Regions from separate parts of the Homo sapiens genome. Here all the other regions are linked to region 5. The links are contacts of gene promoters, found by promoter capture Hi-C in blood cells and fetal thymus (Javierre and others, 2016). All regions are on one chromosome and are shown on one strand. Each heading gives the region's core, a stretch centred on a gene start or on the middle of the fragment in contact. The rest is flanking DNA. Distances are from core to core; before and after follow the strand shown. Region 1 overlaps IFNGR2 (interferon gamma receptor 2). Region 2 overlaps IFNAR1 (interferon alpha and beta receptor subunit 1). Region 3 overlaps SON (SON DNA and RNA binding protein). Region 4 overlaps GART (phosphoribosylglycinamide formyltransferase, phosphoribosylglycinamide synthetase, phosphoribosylaminoimidazole synthetase). Region 5 holds the start of PAXBP1 (PAX3 and PAX7 binding protein 1). Region 6 overlaps TMEM50B (transmembrane protein 50B). Region 7 overlaps DONSON (DNA replication fork stabilization factor DONSON).

Region 1 (3,211 bases), core at 83-2,582, 660 kb before region 5:
TACATTTTAAGCCAGCACACCATGGATGTACATGAAGGGCCACTCGGTGTCCCTCGCTGGGACAGGTTGTGTGACCTGCCCAAGGGGCTCCGGCTCATTTGCCAAAGTCAAGACGACGACCAGGTCTTCTGACTGCTCAGCCCAACCAATAATGAAAAAAGTATCAGAGATGTGTCATATCCATTTTGCTAACAAGCAATTACATGCCTTTTTAGTGTTTAAGAGAAGCCTTAATTTTCCTGGGATATCTCCGTAAAATCATTCTGGAATTTGATTTTGAAAATTCTTTAAGAAAAAAAAAAAAAGCTTGTCACCCCCATGAGACCTGCTGTCTCTCATGTCTGCAGGGACAGGCCTTTTAGAGGCAGCAAAAGGGAATACTGGTCTCTGGAAAGTCCAGACAGAACTCTAGCAGCTCCGATGGCTTGATCTCTTCCAGGGAGCCAGTGGGCTAGGCCCATGCTTTGGTTCAAAGCGTTTGGAGAACATCTTCTTGCTCCTTTTCCGGAAACGAGATAATGGACACAGAGTCCCAGACGTCATCCTTTGGTGAGCTGTCCTTGTCCAAGGCCTCTAAGATGGGCTGAGTTGGGTCTTTTAAATACTTGAGGAGGTTGGAAAGCAAAATTGTAATTAGTTTACCAGTTCAGTATACCAGACCTTTTAACTTTAGTTTTTGTTTTTATTTTATTTTTATTTTTATTTTTTTTTTGAGATGGAGTCTTACTCTTGCCTAGGCTGGAGTATAGTGGTGTGATCTCAGCTCACTGCAACCTCTGCTTCCCAGGTTCAAGCGATTCTCCTGCCTCAATCCTCCAAGTAGCTGGGACTACAGGTGCCCACCACCTTGCCTGGCTAATTTTGTATTTTTAGTAGAGACAGGGTTTCACTATGTTGGCCACGCTGGTCTCAAACTCCTGATCGCAAATGATCCACCCACCTTGGCCTCCCAAAGTGCTGGGATTATAGGCGTGAGCCACTACGCCTGGCCTACTTTAGTTTTAATTGGTATAGTTATTTTATTCAGATATAAGTTGATTCTGTCCACCAATGACATAACTTATTTTTCTTTTTATTCAACAATGAAACAATTTTTTTTTTTTGAGACGGAGTTTCACGTTGTTGCCCAGGCTGGAGTGCAATGACACGATCTCATCTCACTGCAACCTCTGCCTCAGCCTCCCAAGTAGCTGGGATTACAGGCATGCACCACCACACCCTGCTAATTTTGTATTTTAAGTAGAGACGGGGTTTCCCATGTTGGTCAGGCTGTCTCGAACTCCTGACCTCAGGTGATCCGCCCGCCTCGGCCTCCCAAAGTGCTGGGATTGCAGGTGTGAGCCACTGCACCCGGCAACAATTTTTTATTGTTGTTGAGTCAGTCTCTTTTTCGCCCAGGCTGGAGTGCAGTGGCGCGATCTCGGCTCACTGCAACTTCCGCCTCCTGGGTTCAAGCAATTCTCCTGCCTCAGCTTCCCAACCAAGTAGCTAGGATTGCAGGCGTGCACCACCACGGCTGGCTAATTTTTTTTTTTTTTTTTTTTTTTTTGAGACGGAGTCTTGCTCTGTTGCCAGGCTGGAGTGCAGTGGCGTGGATCTCAGCTCACTGCAGCCTCCGCCTCCTGGGTTCAAGTGATTCTCCTGCCTCAGCCTCCCAAGTAGCTGGGACTACAGGCGCATGCCACCATGCCTGGGTAATTTTTGTATTTTTAGTAGAGACAGGGTTTCACCCTGTTGGCCAGGATGGTCTCGATCTCCTGACTTCATGATCCACCCACCTCGGCCTCTCAAAGTGCTGGGATTACAGGCATGAGCCACCTCACCCAGCCAACAACTTCTAATAGTTGAATACTCCTTACCCCTCATCTCAGTAATCACTTTAATACTCATCCCAGGGCTGACCATGTTAATATGCTGAGAGTTTAAAAGGGCAAAACTCAGGAAAAGCAAGTTTTGTTTTTTTCTTCTGATTTTCTGATTGGAAGAAAAGCAAGTTCTTCCTTGCAACCCTCAGTGTAGGCCTGTGGGTTATTAATCTTAAGACGTCTCTAAAATTGTAACCTTTCAGTGAAGGAGGGACTGGGGGCTCTTGTTCAGCTGTGATGGGGAAAAAGAGGGCAAGTTCACAAGCATTGGTCTCAGGCACTCCTCCACCCCTCCCCTTGCACCAGCGCACAGCAAGCAGAGAATCTGGGAGCGAGGGCCTTAGGCCTTAACATATAAAGGGGTGTTTCCCAGCGATTAATTTCCCTTTTGCTCCCGCAGGCTTTAGGCTTAGCCATAGATTCACCAAGTTACCAAGAATCTAGTGTCTAGCTCTTGGAAATGCTGAAAGATACTGGAAGACAATAAGCTTGTAGCTGACTGACTGAAAGAGGAACAAAACCAAAACATGTACCCTTGTGAAACCCCAGAATTATAAGTGAAACATGATTCACTGTTCCCATGTAACTCAGAGACCTTTGGCGGATGTTCTTTATGCTTTCCTAGAAAAGTGAACTGACAGGCCTGTGTTTTCTGTTCATGTCTCAGAGGAATGACTCATAGTATATTCATGTACTGGGGCTCAGCTGGTAGTTCTACCAGGAGAGAGAGAGATTATTACTGCAAGTAAGATTCTGAGACCTGTTAGGAGCTGTGATTTTGTGACAATATTAACCAGGGAGGTTCTAGTAGGGAATCTGTATACTGCCTGTGTACCTACAATACATCATGGCAGATGAAGGAACAAGTGACTAGGGTTCTTTCTGAAAGTGCTGCTATGTTTCTGCAGACTTGGACCTTATCTAACCTCTGTTCATCCCACATGTAACTGAGTAACATTCTGCTTCCAACACCTTTACTCTAGGTTTACCCAAGAATAATGTGAAGCCTCCAGAAGCAAATGCTTTTTATTTATTTTATTTTTTTGAGATGGAGTCTTGCTCTGCCACCCAAGCTAAAGTGCTATGGTGCGATATTGGCTTACTGTAACTTCCACCTCCTGGGTTCAAGCAATTCTCCTGCCTCAGCCTCTCATGTAGCTGGGATTACAGGCGCCCACCACCACGCCCGGCTAATTTTTGTATTTTTGGTAGAGACAGGGTTTCACCATGTTGGCCAGGCTGGTCTCGAACTCCTGACCTCAGGTGATCTGCCCACCCTGGCCTCCCCAAGTCCTGGGATTACAGGTGTGGGTCACTGCGCCCGGCTGCAAATGCTTTTTAAATGT
Region 2 (3,578 bases), core at 387-2,886, 570 kb before region 5:
ACAATATGGTAAGTACCCAAAAGAAGCTTAGAGATCAGCTATCAGAAATACCTCTCATTATCTATTTGGTGACCCTATTATTTATTCACTTCTGAAAGTGAGGTATACACAAAAGACTACTGAACAGTTTCCTGATTGGTTTGTGAGGTTATATATGCATTGTGGGGCACATATGCACATAAATGCATTTGCATTCTACCAGTCACCCTTGGTTCAAAATTAACACTAAAAGATAGAAATTGATCATAGCGGTACTTACACTTCCCTTCTCCCTCATTTTTTCTGTTTCTTTCCAGTTTCTTCTGACTTTTCCTTTCCTGTCTTAGCTATACTTGCCTTTGCTCTCTCTACTCCTCTGCCACCAATGTATATCTTTCTTTCCATCTCTTTTCTCCCCATAACCCATTTTTCCTTCTACTTAATTTTCCTCTTCTCTTTTCTCTATTCATCTCCTACAATTTTCCAATCAATATAAACTACATGCAGTTCTCTTTTATCAGCTTTTTAAAAATTTTAATGCTTAGAGATGGGGGTCTCACTATGTTGCCCAGGCTGCAGTGCAGCGGCTACTAGCAGGTGTGATCATACAACACTGCAGCCTCAATTCCTGGCCTCAAGTAATCCTCCTGCCTCAGCCCACTGAGTAGCTGGGACGATAGGCATGCGCCACTGCACCAGGCCAGTTCTCTTTCATTTATGCAGCGCCTGGACTTCATCCATGTTTAGCTAGCCTCTGCTCAACCACATAGAACATAGTTCTTTCCAACTTTCTTTCCCACCGAAGTATCTACTACAAAATTTTGTCAAAACCACTAAAGTAATAAAGAAAATAGGAAGGCTAATTTTTTGAATTGAACAAGTGAGTGGACTGAGATCATTTTAAGGACTCATGGAAGAAGTGAGTTCTTAGAAAAAGATCAGGGTCAACTGTCGAGTCTTCCAGATTGGGGAAATAACACATGCAACTAGTTACACTTTCTTTTTTTTCTTAAGCCAGTAAGAACCCCAGATATTAGAATCCATCTATTTTACAAGTGAAGAAATTGAGGCCCATGGAGGTTAAGCGATTAGCTCAATGTCATCCAGTTAGTTACTGGCAGAACTGGGGTTAGAAATGAGATTTCTCACGTTTCCAATATATCGTACCCACCTCCCAGTCGGTCATTCTGTGTGCAAGGACCTGGTGACTGATGCAGAGCGAAAAGAAGCATAATCAAAACAAACTGGGCAAAAGGAAATTTATGGAATGGAACTTACTGGAGCCACTGAACTTGAAAGGTCATGTTTGCATATGTATAATCCCATTTAAGAACATAGTTCTGATTTTGGACACTGACTTCTATATTTTCTGGTGGAGGTAGTTCATTTTCAACTAGAAGCCAAAGAACAGATAAAAAAAAGCACACATTTTTACTCAAGTGAGATAACTGGCAAGAAGATAAAGGCTCGCATTTTATCATTATAAGGTAATAGTTAAATATGGTTTGTATTCACACTATGTAATACTATGCAGCCATTTGAAAGACTACAGGCCGGGCGCAGTGGCTCACACCTGTAATCCCAGAACTTTGGGAGGCTGAGGTGGATGGATCACCTGAGGTCAGGAGTTCGAGACGCGCCTGGCCAACATGGTGAAACCCCATTTCTACTAAAAATACAAAAATTAGCCAGGCATGATGGCACACGCCTGTAATCCCAGCTACTCGGGAGGCTGAGGCAGGAGAATCGCTTGAAGCTGGGAGGCAGAGGTTGCGGTGAGCCGAGATTGAGCCACTGCACTCCATTCTGGGCAAGAGAGTGAGACTCTGTCTCAAAAATAAATAAATAAATAAATAAATAAATAAATAAATAAGTAAAAAAGAAAGAATGCAATAGATGGCTAAGATCAAATGAAGAACGTAATAGATCTGTATTGAGTGATATAGAATATCCCCAACACACTGGGTTAAGTAAGCAAGCTGTAAAATACTTCTAGTAAGATTTTATTTTGTAATTTTAAAAAACAAAACCCAAGAAACTGTGGGTCTGTGTATATGCTTACATAAATCCTGAAAAAAGTTGTGAAAGGATATACACAAACTGCTAAGCAATGCTTATCTCTAGTGAATGGAATTGGGGATAAGAAGGGAGAAGAAGACTTCACTTTAAACCCTTCCGTAATGTTTGATTAAAAAAAAAAGCATATGAAATTTACAATTAAAATAAACAAATCCCAGCTCCTGCCCTTGACCTTAATTATTGGAAAGATGTTACTAAATGTATCAGGATACTTTCATATTTTAACATTCCACTTACAAAGGTATGCTTTCTTGAACAATAACTTGTCTACTAGCAACTACTTCCCCACCTTTTCTTCCCACTTGCAGAACTCATAGTTCAGCTACCTCCTGCTTCATGTGGATTCTGAACAAATGAAAAGTTTTGTCATTACAAAATATTTGAACTTTTTTTTTTTTCTAAGACGGAGCCTTACTCTTTGTCCCCCTTGCTCCCGACTGGAGTGCAGTGGCGCGATCTTGGCTCACTGCAACTTCCACCTCCCAGGTTCAAGGGATTCTTGTGCCTCAGCCTCCCAAGTAGCTACCACTACAGGCGTGAGCCACCACGCCCAGCTAATTATTTTTAGTAGACACGGGGTTTTCCCATGTTGGCGAGGCTGTTCTCGAACTTCTGGCTTCAAGTGATCCAGCTACCTCAGCCTCTCAAAGTGCTGGGATTACAGGCGTGGGCCACTACGCCCAGCCTGAACTTTTAAGTAGAATTAATTTTCATTACTATTTGAGACAAAAATCCCAAGTAACATTTATTTTGCTTATGTAAATGTTACAATGTTTTTAACATATATTGACCTATCATGTAAACTTCAGCAATATGGGGAAGATGCCAAAATTGACAATCTGTTTATATATTTATTGAATCTAAAACAAAACATCTTCCTTACCTGTGGTCTTTATACAATGTACTGGACTATAGACACCAATTTTCCATGACGTAAGTAGTGCTGCTTTAACTTTTAGACAATAAGTAGTCTCTGGTGAGAGTTTATAAATTTTATGTCTGGAATAAATATTTTCAATCCTTTCCTATAACACAAATATAAGTTGGTTCTTTAAAAAAGTATAAAGTCAAATTTTAGGATTAATTCGCCTAATTTTTCTCTCACATCGATTAAACAGAGGTAAAAATAATGCTTACTTCTACACCTGAAGAGTTTTTCCAGATAACTAAGCTATATGTAAAGCTTAAACCATCCAAAGCCCACATAACACTATCTTTTGTTCCAGGAGAGATGTGTATCACTATTGCCTTATCTTCAGCTTCTAAATGTACTTCTGGAGGACCAATCTGAGCTGCAAAAAAATCAAAACAATTACTATGGAACTTTATTAATACAATGCCAAAACCTTCATTCAACAAATAATTCTGAGCACTTAATATGTGCCTGCCACTTCTGGGAGTTAAGAGCATACAGATAGGATAGAAAGCTGTAAGATCACCAGTGGAGTGATACAGAAAGAGAAGAGGTTCAATGACTGAGCCCAGCAGCAGTCTAACACTGAAAAGTTGGGAAGATGAAG
Region 3 (3,357 bases), core at 499-2,998, 790 kb before region 5:
AAATCTTAGTGTTTCATATTAAACTCATGATTCTGAAAGGAATTTTATTATAGCAACCTTGATATTTAAATAAAATTACAACTATGTTTTTCCTGAGGTAGTAAAACTTCATTTACTCTTCAACAGACTTACCAAGGGAGCTGCAAGTTCATGTCAAAAATGTATTACCAAATAGTAATTTGACTACTGGTTTCATTTTTTTTTTTTTTTTTTTTGAGATGGAGTTTCGCCCTTATTGCCCAAGCTGGAGTGCAATGGCACAGTCTTGGCTCACTGCAACCTCTCGCCTCCTGGGTTCAAGTGATTCTCCTGCCTCAGCCTCCTGAGTAGCTGGGATTACAGGCATGCGCTGCCACCCCCGGCTAATTTTGTATTTTTAGGAGAGACGCGGTTTCTCCATGTTGGTCAGGCTGGTCTTGAACTCCTGACCTCAGGTGATCCGCCCGCCTTGGCCTCCCAAATTTCTGGGATTACAGGCGTGAGCCACTGTGCCTGGCCATATTTTTATTTTTAATGCGAAAACATATACTCAAAGTAGAATGAATCAAGATTATCTTAACCTCATAAAGATCCTCAAAAGTTTACATCAAAAAGCCTGTTTCCAGCCTTTCAAGGTAACTCAAGTTATACAATGAGGCATAAAAAGCCAATACAATCCCCAAAGCAGCAATGTTTAAGGGTCAAACCCGATGTTACTTATCAGTATTGAAACACTCATAATACCACAGCTACCCTTTAGAGCAGCATTGCCCAGTACAACTTCTTACAGTGATCACTACTGAGCACTTGAAATGTAACTAGTGTGATTAAAAACCTGATTTTTCAGGGGCTGGTAACTGCTGTATTGGACAATAGAGCTTTAGAATCTTAACTGTCGTTTAATATTCAGAAACTGGAAATATAAGAAAGGCACCAAAATGATGGTAAAAGGCCCCTCCAAAAACTGGGAAAAAGAGAATCTTTAATCTGTAGAATACTATTACCAAGCTGTCACCAACAAGCCTTAGTTTCTACCAATACACTATAAGACTAGCATGTTACCTAGTGTATAAAAATAATTCTGTAGTAATATTCTAGGTATGATAATGGGGGAAATGTTTACTGACTTTTCACCTTTGCTCTAAAAGGTGAAATTTACATAAAAAGTGTCCTGAATTACAAATCTCAGGTAAATAAAAACTGCCCAAATTCTTCACTCTCTCTCCCTCAGCAAGAAAGCAGACAACTACTTCTTATAAAACCTACAAAGGTGTCTGAGGCATAATGAAATTACCATAATGCAACTGGCACCATATAACATGCATTTCATGACCTATATTAATACATTTAAGTGAGCCTTTTACATTTTTATTTCTCATTTAGGAAATTCTTCTAAATCCATTTACTCCTTTTGTTAACACAACTGTTGACATAAAAAGAACAATATTTTAAGAGACTTCTTAGAATATCAGTGAAAGGATATAAAAGAGCTAAAGATAATTGTTAGGATGGGGTGAGTCAGATAAGGAAAATACCTATAACCAGAAAATTATTTTCTATTATTGGTAATCACAGATATCTCAAAAGCAGGCATAAAAGGAAAACTTTAATTATAAGAAAATAGACCTAAGGTAAAAGCATCTGGCCTGTATATAAAACATGATTTTAGAATATTTAGCAAATATTAAAATATAAAGAGGTTAATGCATACAAGAGCAAAATGACAACTACAAAAATAAAAGCCACAGAATGTCCCAGTTATGTGTTTGGTTGGCTTTAAAAAGTGAATTACGAATCTTTTTATTGTATCATACAAAATTCTCTAGTGTATAATAGACTAAATGAAGTACAACGGGAAAACAAATAGATAACCTACTAAATGGTTCAGAGAAATTCAGCGTTAACCACATAAGAGAATCTAGGAAGGAAAGAATAACAAGGCTGTATATTACACATTCTAGCAGTGCCGGGACCTATGTGTTTAATTTCCAATTAAAATTTTCATTTTTCTCCAAGTTTTCCTATACATTTAGAGCTTATAAATTTAAAAAAATTGTAATTCCATTGGGATGTGGAAATATGATTTGATAAATACAAACCAGTAAACTGCTTAACATAAAGATGATCTTAACATCTAAGCATTCACTAGACCTTAACAATACTACCTCTGGACCCCTAAAACATTTGATTGATACTAAATCCATGAAAACTCCACACTAATAGTTGAGTAGTTACTACTCCACTTATGTCAAAGATTACATCCTAATCTTCTACTCAATAAACCTCTACTAACTTTATTACCAAGAATTAATGCCCCTGAGGACTATTTTTAAAATATTAGTTTTCCAACATTTTATTTCATTGTTTATAAATCAAATTCACACAAATACAGTCAAAGTTCTGTAGTCACTCCTTACTGAGGATGATGCTGGCTGGTTTCTGAGTATGAAGACGATGCTATGGCAGTACCGCACACAGTCTGATGAGTTGTTTTTCCATAAGAAATGAATTTATGCTGCTTCATCCACAATGTCTATCCATTCATACTCATGTCAAAGAGCATTCATATGCAAGACAATTGGTGGGATTAGGGATTACAGCAAAGCTAATTCAGCCCTCTTATGGAGATAAAATCTGTGATCTTTGCCTAAATGTTTTATGCTCAACAACAAAGAACCACAAACTCCATTTATATTTATTAAAATGAAAAAGGCATAGATAAAAATTACTATTCAGTTCAAAGGTTGACCATTTAAAAGAACTATCTCCTTTTACTCTAGAAGCCTTTATTTCAAACTCTAACAAGGAATCAAAAGGGTTAATGCTCCCACGAAGTGTTACCAAAAGTATTTCACAACATTGGTATATATAACACTAATTGTATAAATAATAAATTCATTACTTTTACCTTCTATATATACAATATAGTATATTTAGATGGTCACTAAATAACTGGAACTAAACATTTTAAATTGTGACTATTTCCTCTACACATTTTAACATTATTGCCAGGTAAAAGTGCAGATATGAAAGCAAAAGGCAATCCTGCCTCTTTGCCCTTGTATTTTGGGATTCTCTTCTTTAGAATTAATCTGTATGTTCTTTTGAGTCTAATCTTCTAAGCAGCTTAAAGAGGTTTTATATCAAATAGTTACATATATCGTCCCACAAGAGACATCATCTGCTTTATTCATTTAGCCCTTTGAAAAGAATTGTAAAATAATTTTACCTTCTAGGATTCTTCTTTGGTAAGAAAAAAAATTTTTTTAACAAAAAATAATGTCACCATTATTTGAGTACCTTTCTCTATCAACTTTTCCCACCAGATTTAAGAATAATTCTCCTCAACCTTTAATTAAAATCTGACAACTTTTGATG
Region 4 (3,289 bases), core at 308-2,807, 740 kb before region 5:
ATGGCGTGAACCTAGGAGGCGGAACTTGCAGTGAGCCGAGATCGCGCCACTGCACTCCAGCCTGGGCAACAGAGCGAGACTCCATCTCAAAAAGAAAAAAAAGAGAGACCCTCTTTTTCTTAACATCGCATATCAAGCCTTTAAATGGCTTTGCTAGGTCACATGCTTATCCCCGAGACCAGGAGATCATGGCACTACTGTGGGTGGTCTCGCTAGGAAGATTTGGGGAGTAGGGGCAGAATACTGGCAGGCAGTCATATATATCCACCGTGCACTTCAAGATAGTGATGTGATCTGCAGCTTTTAGTTGAAGTAATTACATATGTTCACCTTTTGGAAGTTTTTATGAAAGAGTAGTGTTAAGTGATACAAATGTGTTGTTCATTTTAGTCCTTGCATTATCTTATTTTCAGGATAAAACATACCCTAAAGTTTTCATAAAATATTTTTCTTTCCATTATTCTTGTTAATTCACAATTGTTCTTTACTTATTTATGGATATGTTTGAAATGAAGGTTCCCCACGTGTGAAAGTCAAGAATCTGATTGAAAGCATGCAAATAAATGGGTCAGTGTTGAAGAATGGCTCCCTGACAAATCATTTCTCTTTTGAAAAAAAAAAGGCCAGAGTGGCTGTCTTAATATCTGGAACAGGTGAGATGTGGCTTCCCCTTCACTGTAGAGCTGTTGACTGCCCTTCCTTTCCTCCCCGCACTCTTGTGAGATTGTAAGGTTACTCTCGGCAGAGTCTAGGGACTGGGGGGAATCATGAGGGTTGTCTTTGTCTTTTCAGCATTCTTAGTCTTTCCACTTTTCTTAGGAATTTGAGACAGCTCCCAAAGAAAAAAGTAAAGGATGTCAGAAAGCTGGTTAAAGAGAAACCAGAAAAGATAGAAGCTACAGCTCATTTTGTATCATAGCTTTGTTGTTGAAAAGTCTGAAAACAGTTGAGGAATTTTTATTGTTATCTTATTAATTAGAAGAAGTTTATGTTTAACCTTTATGGATAGAGGGGTAAAGTAATAAGAGTATTGTATTCTCTCAGATGGATGTAGCCTGATTTTTTTCCCTCTATTGTAAGTAACACTGCTATGAACATTCTTGCAAATATTCAGTATGTTCTTAAATGCATATGTGATTTTTTTTTATTTGATGGCCAAGATCATAGTGATTCTTTTTGAGACAGTCTTGCTATGTTGCCCAGGCTAGAGTACAGTAGCTATTCACAGATGCAGTCATAGTACACTGCAGCTTCCAGCTCTGGCCTCAAGCAATCCTTCCGCCTTATTAGCCCCCCGAGTAGCTGGGACTGCAGGCATGCAGCACCACAACCAGCTCTGATACTTCTTCAGGATTCATTCCCAGAAGTTTAATTGCTTTACAGGTCGATCTTAAGGTTTTAATGTACTTTAGGCCCAAGTTGATAATAAAGCAAAGAAGCTATTGTAAGATGCAGCCATAAAAAAGAATAAAACCACATCATTTGCAGCAATATGGATGGAACTGGAGGCCATTATCCTGAGTGAACTGCCTCAGAAACAGAAAACCAGATATTGCATGTTCTCACTTATGAGTGGGAGCTAAACAGTGGGTACATGTGGACATAAAGATGGAAACAATAGGGCCGGGTGCTGTGGCTCACGCCTGTAATCCTAGCACTTTGGGAGGCTGAGGCGGGCGGATCACAAGGTCAAGAGATCGAGACCATCCTGGCCAACATGGTGAAACCCTGTCTCCACTAAAAATACAAAAATTAGCTGGGCATGGTGGCACACGTCTGTAGTCCAGCTACTCTGGAGGCTGAGACAGGAGAATTGCTTGAACCCTGGAGACAGAGGTTGCAATGAGCTGAGATTGCACCACTGTACTCCAGCCTGGAGACAGAGCAAGACTCCATCTCAAAAAAAAAAAAAAAAAAAAAGATGGAAACAATAGATACAAAACAGGGAAGTGTGGGAGAAGAGGTGAGGGTTGAAAATTTTTCTATCAGGTATAATGTTCACTATGTAGGTAATAGGTACACTAGAAGCCCAGTCCCCACCATTATACAACATTCCCATGTAATAAACAAGCGTGTGTACCCCCGAATCTAAAATTTTTTTTTTTTAAAGAAACTATTGTAAGAGTCATAGCATAGTGGTTTGTTCTTGAGAGGGTCAGTTTTTCTTGCTTAATTAAGCAGCTTATTTCTCATCAGTCAGTTTTAACATAATGTTATACTGTTTCTACTACAATGCTAGATCACAAGATACAGAATTTGTGGGAGCAATTACATATCCTAGGAGCAATTACATATCCTAAACCACGTCGTTTGCAGCAATATGGATGGAACTGGAGGCTATCCAGGAATATCTGTGCTTTTCACAATCTATTAATCCATTATCCCAAGAGGAAGGGAGTTTTTTTAATTTTTAATTTGTATGGGTACATGGTAGGTATATATATTTATAGGGTACATGAGATCTTTTGATACAGCCATACAACCTGTAATAATCACATCCCTGTAAATGGGGTATTCATCACCTCAAGCATTTATTCTTTGTGTTACAAACAATCCAGTTATTTTATTTCAGTTTTTTTTTGTTTTGTTTTTGTTTTTGTTTTTGAGATAGAGTCTCACTCTGTCGCCCAGGCTGGAGTGCAGTGGCGCAGACTCGGCTCACTGCAAACTCCGCCTCCCAGTTTCAAGTGATTCTTCTGTCTCAGCCTCCTGAGTAGCTGGGATTACAGGCACCTGCCACTATGCCTGGCTAATTTTTTGTATTTTTAGTAGAGATGGGGTTTCATCATGTTGGCCAGGCTGGTCAGGCTGGTCTTGAACTCTTGACCTCAGTATGATCCGCCTGCCTTGGCCTCCCAAAGTGCTGGGATTATAGGTGTGAGCCACCACATCCAGCCTCTTCCAGTTATTTTAAAATGTGTAATAAATTATTGTTGACTATAGTCACCCTGTTATGCTATCAAACACTAGATTTTGTTCATTCTAACTATATTTTTGTACCCATTAGCATCCCCTCTCCCCGTCTCTCCCACTACCCTTCCTAGCCTCTGGTAACCATCATTGCACTATCATCATGAGTTCAACTGTTTTAATTTTTAGCTCCCACAAATAAGTGAGAACATGTGAGGTTTGTCTTTCTGTGCCTGACTTATTTCACTTAACTTAATGACCTCCCGTTCCATCCATGTTGTTGCAAATGACAGGATCTCATCTTTTTTATGGCTGAATAGTACTCCATTGTGTGATGTACCACATTTTCTTTATCCATTTGTCTGCTGATAAACATTTA
Region 5 (3,478 bases), core at 541-3,040:
ATTTCAATTCTATTTCATCCTACAGATGTAACAGTTTTTCAAAGCTTTTCATTACAGCACTGATTAAGACTAGAAATAATCTAAATATCAATGTTTATGGAACTGGTTAAATAAATTACGGTATATCCCAACAATGAATCACTACGCAGGTGGGTTAAAAAAAAAAATAGACGGCCGTGCGCGGTGGCTCACGCCTGTAATCCCAGCACTTTGGGAGACTGAGGCGGGCGGATCACGAAGTCAAGAGATTGAGATCATCCTGGCCAACAGAGTGAAATACAAAAATACAAAATAAATTAGCTGGGCGTGGTGGCACGTGCCTGTAATCCCAGCTACTAGGGAGGCTGAGGCAGAAGAATCACTTGAACCTGGGAGGCGGAGATTGCAGTGAGCGGAGATCGCGCCATTGCACTCTAGCCTGGGCGACAAGAGCGAAATTTAGTCTCAAAACAAACAAACAAAAAACCAAAAAAACACAACCCTTCATATACAGATATGGGCCGATCTCCAATCTACGGTAGGCTAAAAATGCAGCTTACACACCATCTGTGTAAAAAGGGGAACACATTAAAATATGCATATTTATTTGCTTTTATGTTCATGGAACATCTTTAGAGGATCATAAGAAACTGTTAACATTGCCACTGAGGAAGTGAACAGCCTTCCAGACATGGGTGGATTTTTTTCACTCTACCGAATACCCTTTTAATTTCGAAACATCAAAATGAATTCGCATGCACAGGTGCATGCCCGAAGGAAAAACTTCTAGTTCGGTGATGAGATAGGGAAAGCCGGTGAGTTCAACCTTAGGCGCAATCACCCTGTGAAGGTGTGGCCAGCGAGGGCTTTGTCACGCAAGTCTGAGAACTGTCACAACCTTCCCCACCCCCTGCTCTATTTTCCTTCCACTTGTTTCTGAAACTCACTAAGCTTTGGAAAGTATTTAGTCATAGAATTGCTTGCAAACTTGGCATTCTTTAGAAAACACGGAAACACTTTTGCTTTCCTTGTTCCTGAAAGACTGGGGAACGGGGGACATCAAGCCAGGTAACATTGTATCATAACTGAAATTCAATGTCTTTGAAGTAACATTGTACCATAAATGAAATTCAATGTCTTTGAAGTAACATTGTATCATAAATAAAATTCAATGTCTTTCTAAGAGCTCTGTAGCTATAAAGCTGTAGAAATACAAAGTATTACTCAAGAATAACTAGTAATTACCAATAGTCACACCTCAGGTCAAAGTTTGGAGAGGACTATTCCACCTACTAGATCACACTTTCCTTCCCGAAAGCCGCTTCTCTCTCTGGCCTCTCCCCTCCTCCTCCTCCCTCATCTGTTTGGCGGGAGGCTTCCTCACATTACCGCTCCGCGTAAGTGCGAAGACGCACTGCAGCAGCGCCGTCTGAGGGACAACAGAGCCTACTCTTTCTTCTCATCTCTATGATCCTCTTTGTGACCTGTCAAACAACACCAGAGTTCCATGCTAATAGTACTCCACTCCGACAGAGAGCGATGCAAAGAGCCGACGCTCTCGCGAGAGGTGTGGGGCTCTCTCTCTCTCTCTCGCTCTCTCTCTCTCTCTCTCTCTCGCTCTCTCTCTCTCTCTCTCTCTCTCTCTCTCTCTCTCTCTCTCTCTCTCTCTCTCTCTCTCTCTCTCTCTCTCTCTCTCTCTCTCTCTCACTCTCTCTCTTTCTCCAAGTATTGAGAGCGCGTGGGAGCATAGGCGCATGCGCGCTCGTGGGGTGCGCGGTAGCAACAGAGGACTCGACCCGGCTGGAGCTCCGGAGAGCGCGCGTGCGCCGTCACGAGCTCGGCGCTGCCGGGGCCGCGGTGTGGAAGCGAGTATTCGACCGCCGTGCGGGCCGCGGGGATGTTCCGAAAGGCCCGGCGGGTGAACGTGCGCAAGCGGAACGACTCCGAAGAGGAAGAGCGGGAACGCGATGAGGAGCAGGAGCCGCCGCCGTTGTTGCCGCCGCCGGGCACGGGCGAAGAGGCGGGCCCCGGTGGCGGCGACAGGGCCCCTGGCGGGGAGTCGCTGCTGGGCCCGGGGCCGTCGCCGCCTTCCGCGCTGACCCCGGGCCTCGGGGCTGAGGCCGGGGGCGGCTTCCCCGGCGGCGCGGAGCCCGGCAACGGGCTGAAGCCGCGCAAGAGGCCTCGCGAGAACAAAGAGGTGCCCCGGGCCAGCCTGCTCAGCTTCCAGGACGAGGAGGAAGGTAAAGTGCGCGCTTCGGACGCCCTTAGACGGCCGCATCCCCGACGCAGGCCCCCGTCCCCCGCCCCCGTATTCTCTGGACGCCCAGCCCCGGAGCCCTGGAACGGAGTCCCCTGCCGTCCGACCGGCTGCGAATCTTCCCCAGCCTCCGGCCTTCTGCTCGGGCAAGGGACGCGTTCCCGCGCTGCCCCCAGCCTTTTCTTAACCACCTCCTCTGCCACGGGGCCGGAGCTCAGATCAGGCATTCAGAGTGTTTCAGGGGAAATTCGGTGTTCCCTGTCCTGCCTCTTTTCTGCCTGGCGTGTTTCAGGGCCAACTTGGTGTGGGTCCCCTGGCTGCTCTTGGCATGCTTTCCGAGCCCTCTGCAGGTCACTGCGCCCACACTTCTTGGATGCTCTGTCCAGGCATCCTCGACCATGAAGGCCGAGTTTGTAAAAAGGAATACTAGGAGAGGGAACAGAAGCCTGGAGTTGCAGCTCTGGTTCTGAGTGACCTTGGGCCAGTCCCTTGCAGTCGCTGAGCCTCAGTTTACCCATAAAAGTAATTAGGGGTAGCAGATACCCAGCCTTCTTCGCACTGACTTTGGGAACAGTGAAGCGAGACGGTGTAAAAATAGTAAAAGCAAGGTAGTTTCTCCAATTCCTGTGGGAGGCCAGGCTGCAGTGGTTTTAGATTGCTGATCTTAAATGAGCCTTAAATCTTTTCTTCTGACCATTTGAATGTGCATAACCCAGTTAATTCCATGTTACGAAAAAAGAAATTAAGTTTTGTAAATCTTGCATTTTTATTCGAGAGGTTTCCAGTAAGGTAGGTAGTTTATCTTTGGCATTTCTGTTACTCTTTATTTGGTTTGAGAGGAGTACAGACAGATTTTTGTTTTTGAGATACATGAGCTATTTTTTTTTAAGTATTTAGTACTTTTAAAATTTCAAATCAAAGAAAAGTGATTTGCCCTTACCTTAGCTTTAAAACCACTATGTCAGCTTGTGGTGGATGTAGTTACTCAGAATTGACAGCACCTTTTTATTTTAGATATTTTGTTTCGGATTCGTTAATAACTTGGTGATGTGGTTTTTCAGAAACATTTTGAATGATTTTTTCCCCTCTCAAATAGATGATTTAAGGACGACAATAATAGGAAAATTTTGTGAAGTTACATGTGCTATTCCTTTAAAAAGTCTCAAAAATCTCATTACTTCACAGTAATTTAGGAAGTTGACCTCTGTTTTTGAGTCTGTGACAGACTTGAAATAATTATAC
Region 6 (3,261 bases), core at 412-2,911, 680 kb before region 5:
GTGAAACCCCATCTCTAATAAAAATACAAACATTAGTCGGGCATGGTGGTGTGTGCCTGTAATCCCAGCTACTCGGAAGGCTGAGGCAGGAGAACCACTTGAACCCAGGAGACACGGGGGTTGGAGTGAGTCGAGATAGTGCCACTGCATTTCAGCTTGGGTGACAGAGCAAGACTCCATATCAAAATAATAATAATAATTAATACATAGTATGCATATTATATACAAAACCTGTTGGGAAATTCTGTTTTCTGAATGCCCTTTTAAGAAAAGTTAAAGTAAGTGGAAAAATAAACCAATATTAAAAGTATTTTTTAGGGGCAGTCTTCTAAAATATCCCCAAAATGAAGTCCATTCTATGCTTTTTAGAATGAATGTCTTTTTTTTTTTTTTTTTTGAGCTGGATTCTCGCTCTGTTGCCCAGGCTGATGTGCAGTGGTGCAATCTCAGCTCAATGCAACCTCTGCCTCCCAGGCTCAAGCAATTCCGTGCCTCAGCCTCCCAAGTAGCTGGGATTACAGGCATGCACTGCCACACCCAGCTAATTTTTGTATTTTTAGTAGAGATGGGGTTTTGCCATGTTGACCAGGCCGGTCTCGAACTCCTGACCTCAAGTGATCTGCCCACCTCAGCCTCCCAAAGTGGTAGGATTACAGGTGTGAGCCACCATGCCCAGCCTAGAATGAATGTCTTTTAATGTCAACATAGGATATTTAGGTATATATTTATAAAATTTTATCTGCCTCTGTCCCCATCCCCCATAAATCATTAAGTAACTTCTAAGCCTTGAAAAACTTTGCTTTTGTCACTGGTTTTAAGTAATTTGATTACGATGTACTGTGGTCTAGTTTTCTTGATATTCCTTCTGCTTGGTGTATATTGAGTTTCTTGGATCTATAGGTTTATAGTTCATCAATAAATCTAGATTCTTCTCAGCCATTATTTCTTCAAGCATTTTTTGTATCCACTGCACCCTCCCTCTGGGATTTCAATTACAGGTTATAATAGGCTGCTCGAAGTTGTCTCACAGCTTGCTAATGGTCAGATTTTTTTTTCCTGTTTGTGTTTCAGTTTGGATAGTTTCTATTGTTACATTTTAAAATTAATCTCGGCTGGGCATGGTGGCTCACACCTGTAATCTCAACACTTTGGGAGGCCAAGGCGGGTGGATCACTTGAGGTCAGGAGTTCGAGACCAGCCTGGCCAACATGGTGAAACCTCATCTCTACTAAAAATACAGACATTAGCTGGGCATGGTGGTGCATGCCTGGAATCCCAGCTACTCGGAAGGCTGAGGCCAGAGAATCACTTGAACCCGGGAGGCTGAGGTTGCAGTGAGCTGAGATCACACCATTGCTGAGCAACAGAGCGAGACTTCATCTCAAAATAAATAAATACATAAATAAATAAAATTAATCTCTCTATTGTCACTTTGAAGAATTAAATAAATTAATCTCTACTTCTGCAATGTCTAATCTATGCCATCCAATGATTTTTTCATCTCAGACATTGTATTTTCTCTCTCTAGAAGCTTGATTGGGTCTTTAAAAATATTTCTGATGTCTTCCCTTAACATGCTCATGCCCTCTTCCACCTTGAACACACAGAGTATATTTATAGCTATCTCAGGGTCCTTGTCCAATTGTCTGTGTCATTTCTGCATCTGCTTCTACTGATTTTTTCTGCTTCTGTTTACTCTTCATTTTGGACCTATTTTCCCTTATTTGGTGCTTTGCATACAATTTGTTGGGACTGGATCTTTGCTAGTCCTTTAAATGTTTTTAAGCTTTGTTTTGGGATGCAGTTAGGTGACTCAGAAACAATCAGAAACAATTTGATCCTTTTATGTCTCTTAAGCTTTGTTATAGGCAGGACCAGAGCAGCTGTAGCCCAGGACTGATTTGTCCCCCTACTAAGGCAGTCATACCCTTTGAGTGTTTCCACTCTCTGATGCTTCATGTATTCCGAGGTTTCTCTACTCGACTTGTGAGAGTATGAACTCTCTTCCAGCCTTGTGGTAGCTCTGGGACATGTTCTTTCCAGTGGTTCTTTCCTTCCCTTGGGTAGTTTCCTCTTATGTATAGACTCTTCAGTACTCAGCCACAGACTGAAGGAGCACCCCCTGCAGATCTCCTGCGTTCCCTCTGTGTGGCTGTCTGTACGCTGCATGGCAAACTCTAGCCATGTGGTCTCCCTCCACTCTCAGACCACCATGCTCTACCTGGATTTCGCCTTGTGGCCTTGACACTCCTGGTTTTGAAAGATGTTTGGCAGTTTCTGCTGTCTTATATGTCAAAGACATGTGACTGACAGCCTTCTGGGGATATGGTAAGTTGTTATGAAGACATTTTAGGCAGTCTTTAGAGATTAAGTTCAGATTCAACACTTTGTGGTGGTAGATGAATCCACTTAAATGACAATTGGATGAACAGAAACCTTGTATGCTCAGGTGGACATAGTTGACAGCTGTGTCATCTATGTGCTCTGCCCAGAGGCTGGCAAGTTATCAGGCAGCCTGTATGCTTCCTGTGTGCTGGACCTGTTCTAAGCTCTGGGGTACAACCTCTTTTATTTACATCTCTGGTCACTCCTCTGTTTTCCTTGCAAGCTGATCCTCCACTCCCTGCCTACTACCTTTTGAAGTCTCTTAAAGCTGTTCTTGGCCTTAAGAAACTCCTTGTTATTTTTCTGTCCCTGGGTGAACTCATGTGTACTTAGGACTCCAATTATTGCTTATATGCCAGTGAGTCACAGATGTCCCTTTCCAGGCCTAAACCGTATATCCAGATTCCTACTTCACATCCCTTCTTGGGTTGCTGACATTTCAAATCCAAAACATTTAGTATGCCCACAGCTCAACTCATGGCCCTGGAGTGTCCCATCTCTCTGCTCCCGCCTCCTTATCCTCTCTCACTTTGCCGAGATAATTCCCCCTCTTCTTTTGGATCTCAATTCAGTCACCACTCCTCAGGAAAACCTTTCCTGACCTCTCTAACTAGGTCTGATCCTTATGTTTCACTCTGAGGATACTGTGCACCTCTCATTTATAGCATTTTTTTATAGGTGGAATTTTATATTTATTTGATTGTCTCCTTATTAGACCCTTAGCTCCATTAGGGAGCAAGTTTGTCTGGACTCAGTCTCACCCCAGCACTTAGGTGCTTGGTACGTAGCCACTTTTCAGTGCACAATAATTATTTGTTGAAGGAATGAAGAATTGCAGCATGGTCTGTTGTAGGGTGCTTCAGTTACTGTAATTTA
Region 7 (3,207 bases), core at 107-2,606, 810 kb before region 5:
TTTTTTAAGTCAGATTGAGTAACTGCTCATACATTTAGAGACTTGTCTTGCAAATTAATCAGTGTTGCAGGCAAGAATTGTTAAATTATTTTTCTCTAAGGCTTTTTGAGAAAGAAAATACAAAGAAAGAAGTGAAAAGCAATTGGGTGGGATTGCAAGGGCTGATGGATTTACAGATTTTCTTACCTGTATAAGAAAAATTTTATGAATTTTGTGGAGTTTGTGAGTTCTAGAATGGTTTTAGAGATATACATTTTGATTATTTTAAAGCATCAACTCAAAACTAGGAGGCTGGGCACAATAGCCCATGCCTGTAATCTCAGCATTTTGGGGGCTGAGGTGGGGGGATTGCTTGAGACCAGCCTGAGTAACGTAGTGAGACCCCATCTCTACAAAAAAAAAAAAAAAAAAAAATTAGCTGAGCATGGTGGTGGGTGCCTGTAGTCCCAGCTACTTGGGAGGCTCAGGTAGGAGGATTGTTTAAGCCCAGGAGGTCAAGACTGCAGTGAGCTCTGATTGTGCCACTGTACTCTAGCCTCAGTGACAGAGTGAGACTATCTTAAAAAAATTTTTTTAAAGTCTCAAACTAGGTTAAAAAGGATTACCCTGAAAAAGGTCTTGGTATATTATACATCTTTTCAATAAATAGATTAGGATGATTTGTGATTTGCCGTATCAGTGTTTACTGGCTACTTTTAAAACAGCCTTTTGGAGAGAGGGTTGGATGTAGTGTTACCTACACACACATGCCCACCCCTATTCCTCATGATAAAAAAGGTAGTCATTGTCCTTAAGGATGGTAGAAACAGGAAAATGTTCCCATCTATGTTTAAATGTTCTGATACTACGGCTTACCATTACATCTGGCTCAAATAAGGATAAACTATGTTTTCGTTCCTATAACAATTATTAATGCTTTCCTATAGAAAGCAATAAAGATTCTTAGACCTAAGTGTTTGGTAAAGATTGTCTTTAATAAAATTCTCTATTTCTCAATGGGCAAAAACTGCCCACTGTCACCTTTGGATTTTAGGATCCCAAACTCTCCTCTGAGCTCCGTTGTACCTTCCAGCAGAGCCTTATCTATTGGCTCCACCCTGCTTTGTCTTGGCTACCACTGTTCCCTCGTATTGGAGCTGATAGAAAAATGGCTGGAAAGACAAGTCCTTGGTCAAATGATGCAACCCTGCAGCATGTTTTAATGAGTGACTGGTAAGATTAGTAAGAGAAACTTGTATAATTCAATAGTGAATTTTATTTTAGCAGCATTCTCTATCATATTTGTGACTGGATACGTTAATGGCAGAAGGGTATCTAGATCCTTGTGAATTTTATCTGAACCTATTAATAACCAACATATAAACTGTTTACTTTTTTTTTTTTTAGCTGTTACTCATTCTTTACCCAATTGTGGTAGAATGTATATAAGTGTTGGTTAAATATATACAGACAGGCAGGCCGGGTGTGGTGGCTCACGCCTGTAATCCCAGCACTTTGGGAGGCCGAGGCAGGCGGATCACAAGGTCAGGAGATTGAGACCATCCTGGCTAACACGGTGAAACCCTGTCTCTACTAAAAATACAAAAAAAATTAGCCTGGTGTGGTGGCGGGTGCCTATAGTCACAGCTACTCGGGAGGCTGAGGCAGGAGAATGGCATGAACCTGGGAGGCAGAGCTTGCAGTGAGCCGAGATCGCGCCACTGCACTCCAGCCTGGGCGACAGAGCGAAACTCCGTCTCAAAAAAAAAAAAAAAGTATATATATATATATATATATATATATATATAAACACGCAGCCCTAATTCTTTAATGCTACTTCTTGTCAGTCTCTGCTTCCTTTTTTAGCAGCAGCTCAGAGAAAGTCAGCAGGCAATTCTCAATTAAGTTTTGTTTAAAGAAAAAATAAGTGTTTAAGTGGTATACACTATTTGTTAAAGTATTGAGAAGTCATCAGCGAGTCCTCATAACCAATTTCAGTCCTTTAAAGCTAAGTCATACGTAACCACAAAAATTAAAACCATTATCTAAAATATTTGTGTTGTGTTTTAAACCAGGTATCAAACTGAATTATTCAGAATTATAAACATTGCATTAAATGTTTAATAATACCTTAAGAAAATTTTTTTACTTCATAGGTCTGTGAGCTTTACTTCTCTATATAATTTGCTGAAGACAAAACTTTGCCCCTATTTCTACGTTTGTACCTATCAGTTTACTGTCCTGTTCCGAGCAGCAGGATTAGCTGGAAGTGACTTAATCACAGCTCTCATATCTCCAACAACTCGAGGTTTAAGAGAAGCTATGAGAAATGAAGGTAAAAGTTTAGGTTTAAAGTGAGAATACTATACTATATAGTAAACCTATTTTGGCCTAAAAGCTATTTAAATTTAAAATGCCTTTTACCAGTTGATTAGCAACATTAAGAAATATATTATTTCTTTATTTCTGGCTTTTTTTCCCTCCCCCACAATTATTTAATCCAGCAGTCCGCAAACTTTTTGGCACTAGGGATCAGTTTCATGGGCAGTGAGGAGGATGGTTTCGGGATGAAACTGTTACACATCAGATGATCATTCTTTTTTTTTTTTTTTTTTTTTTTTTGAGATGGAGACTCGCTCTGTCACCCAGGCTAGAATGCAGTGGTGCAATCTCGGCTCACTGCAAGCTCCGCCTCCTGGGTTCAGGCCATTCTCCTGCCTCAGCCTCCCGAGTAGCTGGGACTACAGGTGCCTGCAACCATGCCCGGCTAATTTTTTGTATTTTTAGTAGAGACGGGGTTTCACCGTGTTAGCCAGGACGATCTCGATCTCCTGACCTCGTGATCCGCCCGCCTCGGCCTCCCAAAGTGCTGGGCTTACAGGCGTGAGCCACCGCGCCCGGACAAGATCATCATTCTTATAAGGAGGGCACAACCTAGATGCCTCACATGCACAGTTCACAGTAGGATTCGTGCCCCTGTGAGAATCTAATGCGACCACTGATGTGACAGGAGATGGAGCTCAGGCAGTAATGTTCACTCGACAGTCGCTCACCTCCTGCTGTGCAGCCCGGTTTCTAACAGGCCACAGGCCAGTACCAGTCCACAGTCCAGGGGTTGGGGACTCCTGATTTAAACTGTTCCTTCCACATAGTGTTCTCTGATCTCTAAAATAAAACACATATTGGGCCAGATAGTCACTATCTGAATATACTCTTCTAGAAATTCTT

The links. The method cuts DNA at HindIII sites, captures the fragments that hold promoters and counts their contacts. A CHiCAGO score of 5 or more calls a contact.
Region 1: a contact is called between a fragment that was not itself captured here and the fragment with the promoter of PAXBP1 in region 5, in 1 of 17 cell types (naive CD4 T cells). The highest score is 6.2, in naive CD4 T cells.
Region 2: a contact is called between a fragment that was not itself captured here and the fragment with the promoter of PAXBP1 in region 5, in 1 of 17 cell types (total CD4 T cells). The highest score is 7.1, in total CD4 T cells.
Region 3: a contact is called between a fragment that was not itself captured here and the fragment with the promoter of PAXBP1 in region 5, in 1 of 17 cell types (neutrophils). The highest score is 5.7, in neutrophils.
Region 4: a fragment that was not itself captured here is called in contact with the fragment with the promoter of PAXBP1 in region 5 in 1 of 17 cell types (total CD4 T cells); the score reaches 5.1 in total CD4 T cells.
Region 6: a contact is called between a fragment that was not itself captured here and the fragment with the promoter of PAXBP1 in region 5, in 1 of 17 cell types (total CD8 T cells). The highest score is 5.0, in total CD8 T cells.
Region 7: a contact is called between a fragment that was not itself captured here and the fragment with the promoter of PAXBP1 in region 5, in 3 of 17 cell types (monocytes, total CD4 T cells and total CD8 T cells). The highest score is 7.4, in monocytes.

The regions. Positions count from the first base shown.
Region 1 is chr21:33,434,221-33,437,431 of GRCh38, reverse strand. It overlaps IFNGR2 (interferon gamma receptor 2), which reads right to left. Exons shown (of 7, transcript NM_005534.4): 7 at 1-604. The coding sequence ends at 470. It also overlaps a transcript of TMEM50B not described here. Among named protein-coding and RNA genes, the nearest start is that of IFNGR2, 32 kb to the right of the region's middle. The HindIII fragment of the contact is 2,047 bases long and covers 309-2,355 here.
Region 2 is chr21:33,343,040-33,346,617 of GRCh38, reverse strand. It overlaps IFNAR1 (interferon alpha and beta receptor subunit 1), which reads right to left. Exons shown (of 11, transcript NM_000629.3): 4 at 3,196-3,350; 5 at 2,942-3,083; 6 at 1,258-1,372. Among named protein-coding and RNA genes, the nearest start is that of IFNAR1, 20 kb to the right of the region's middle. The HindIII fragment of the contact is 3,215 bases long and covers 29-3,243 here.
Region 3 is chr21:33,561,720-33,565,076 of GRCh38, reverse strand. All of the region lies in intron 6 of SON (SON DNA and RNA binding protein), which reads right to left. Among named protein-coding and RNA genes, the nearest start is that of MIR6501, 13 kb to the right of the region's middle. The HindIII fragment of the contact is 9,715 bases long and covers 1-3,357 here.
Region 4 is chr21:33,507,147-33,510,435 of GRCh38, reverse strand. GART (phosphoribosylglycinamide formyltransferase, phosphoribosylglycinamide synthetase, phosphoribosylaminoimidazole synthetase) reads left to right here. Exons shown (of 22, transcript NM_000819.5): 18 at 516-653. Among named protein-coding and RNA genes, the nearest start is that of DNAJC28, 17 kb to the right of the region's middle. The HindIII fragment of the contact is 4,585 bases long and covers 1-3,289 here.
Region 5 is chr21:32,770,067-32,773,544 of GRCh38, reverse strand. PAXBP1 (PAX3 and PAX7 binding protein 1) reads left to right here and starts at 1,790. Exons shown (of 18, transcript NM_016631.4): 1 at 1,790-2,219. The coding sequence starts at 1,877. EPCIP-AS1 (EPCIP antisense RNA 1) reads right to left here and starts at 1,445. Exons shown (of 4, transcript NR_024623.1): 1 at 1,237-1,445. RefSeq lists an enhancer at 1,134-2,123. The HindIII fragment of the contact is 7,946 bases long and covers 933-3,478 here.
Region 6 is chr21:33,451,239-33,454,499 of GRCh38, reverse strand. All of the region lies in intron 6 of TMEM50B (transmembrane protein 50B), which reads left to right. Among named protein-coding and RNA genes, the nearest start is that of TMEM50B, 27 kb to the left of the region's middle. The HindIII fragment of the contact is 255 bases long and covers 1,534-1,788 here.
Region 7 is chr21:33,582,595-33,585,801 of GRCh38, reverse strand. It overlaps DONSON (DNA replication fork stabilization factor DONSON), which reads left to right. Exons shown (of 10, transcript NM_017613.4): 4 at 1,034-1,212; 5 at 2,136-2,314. Among named protein-coding and RNA genes, the nearest start is that of DONSON, 4.5 kb to the left of the region's middle. The HindIII fragment of the contact is 4,141 bases long and covers 1-3,207 here.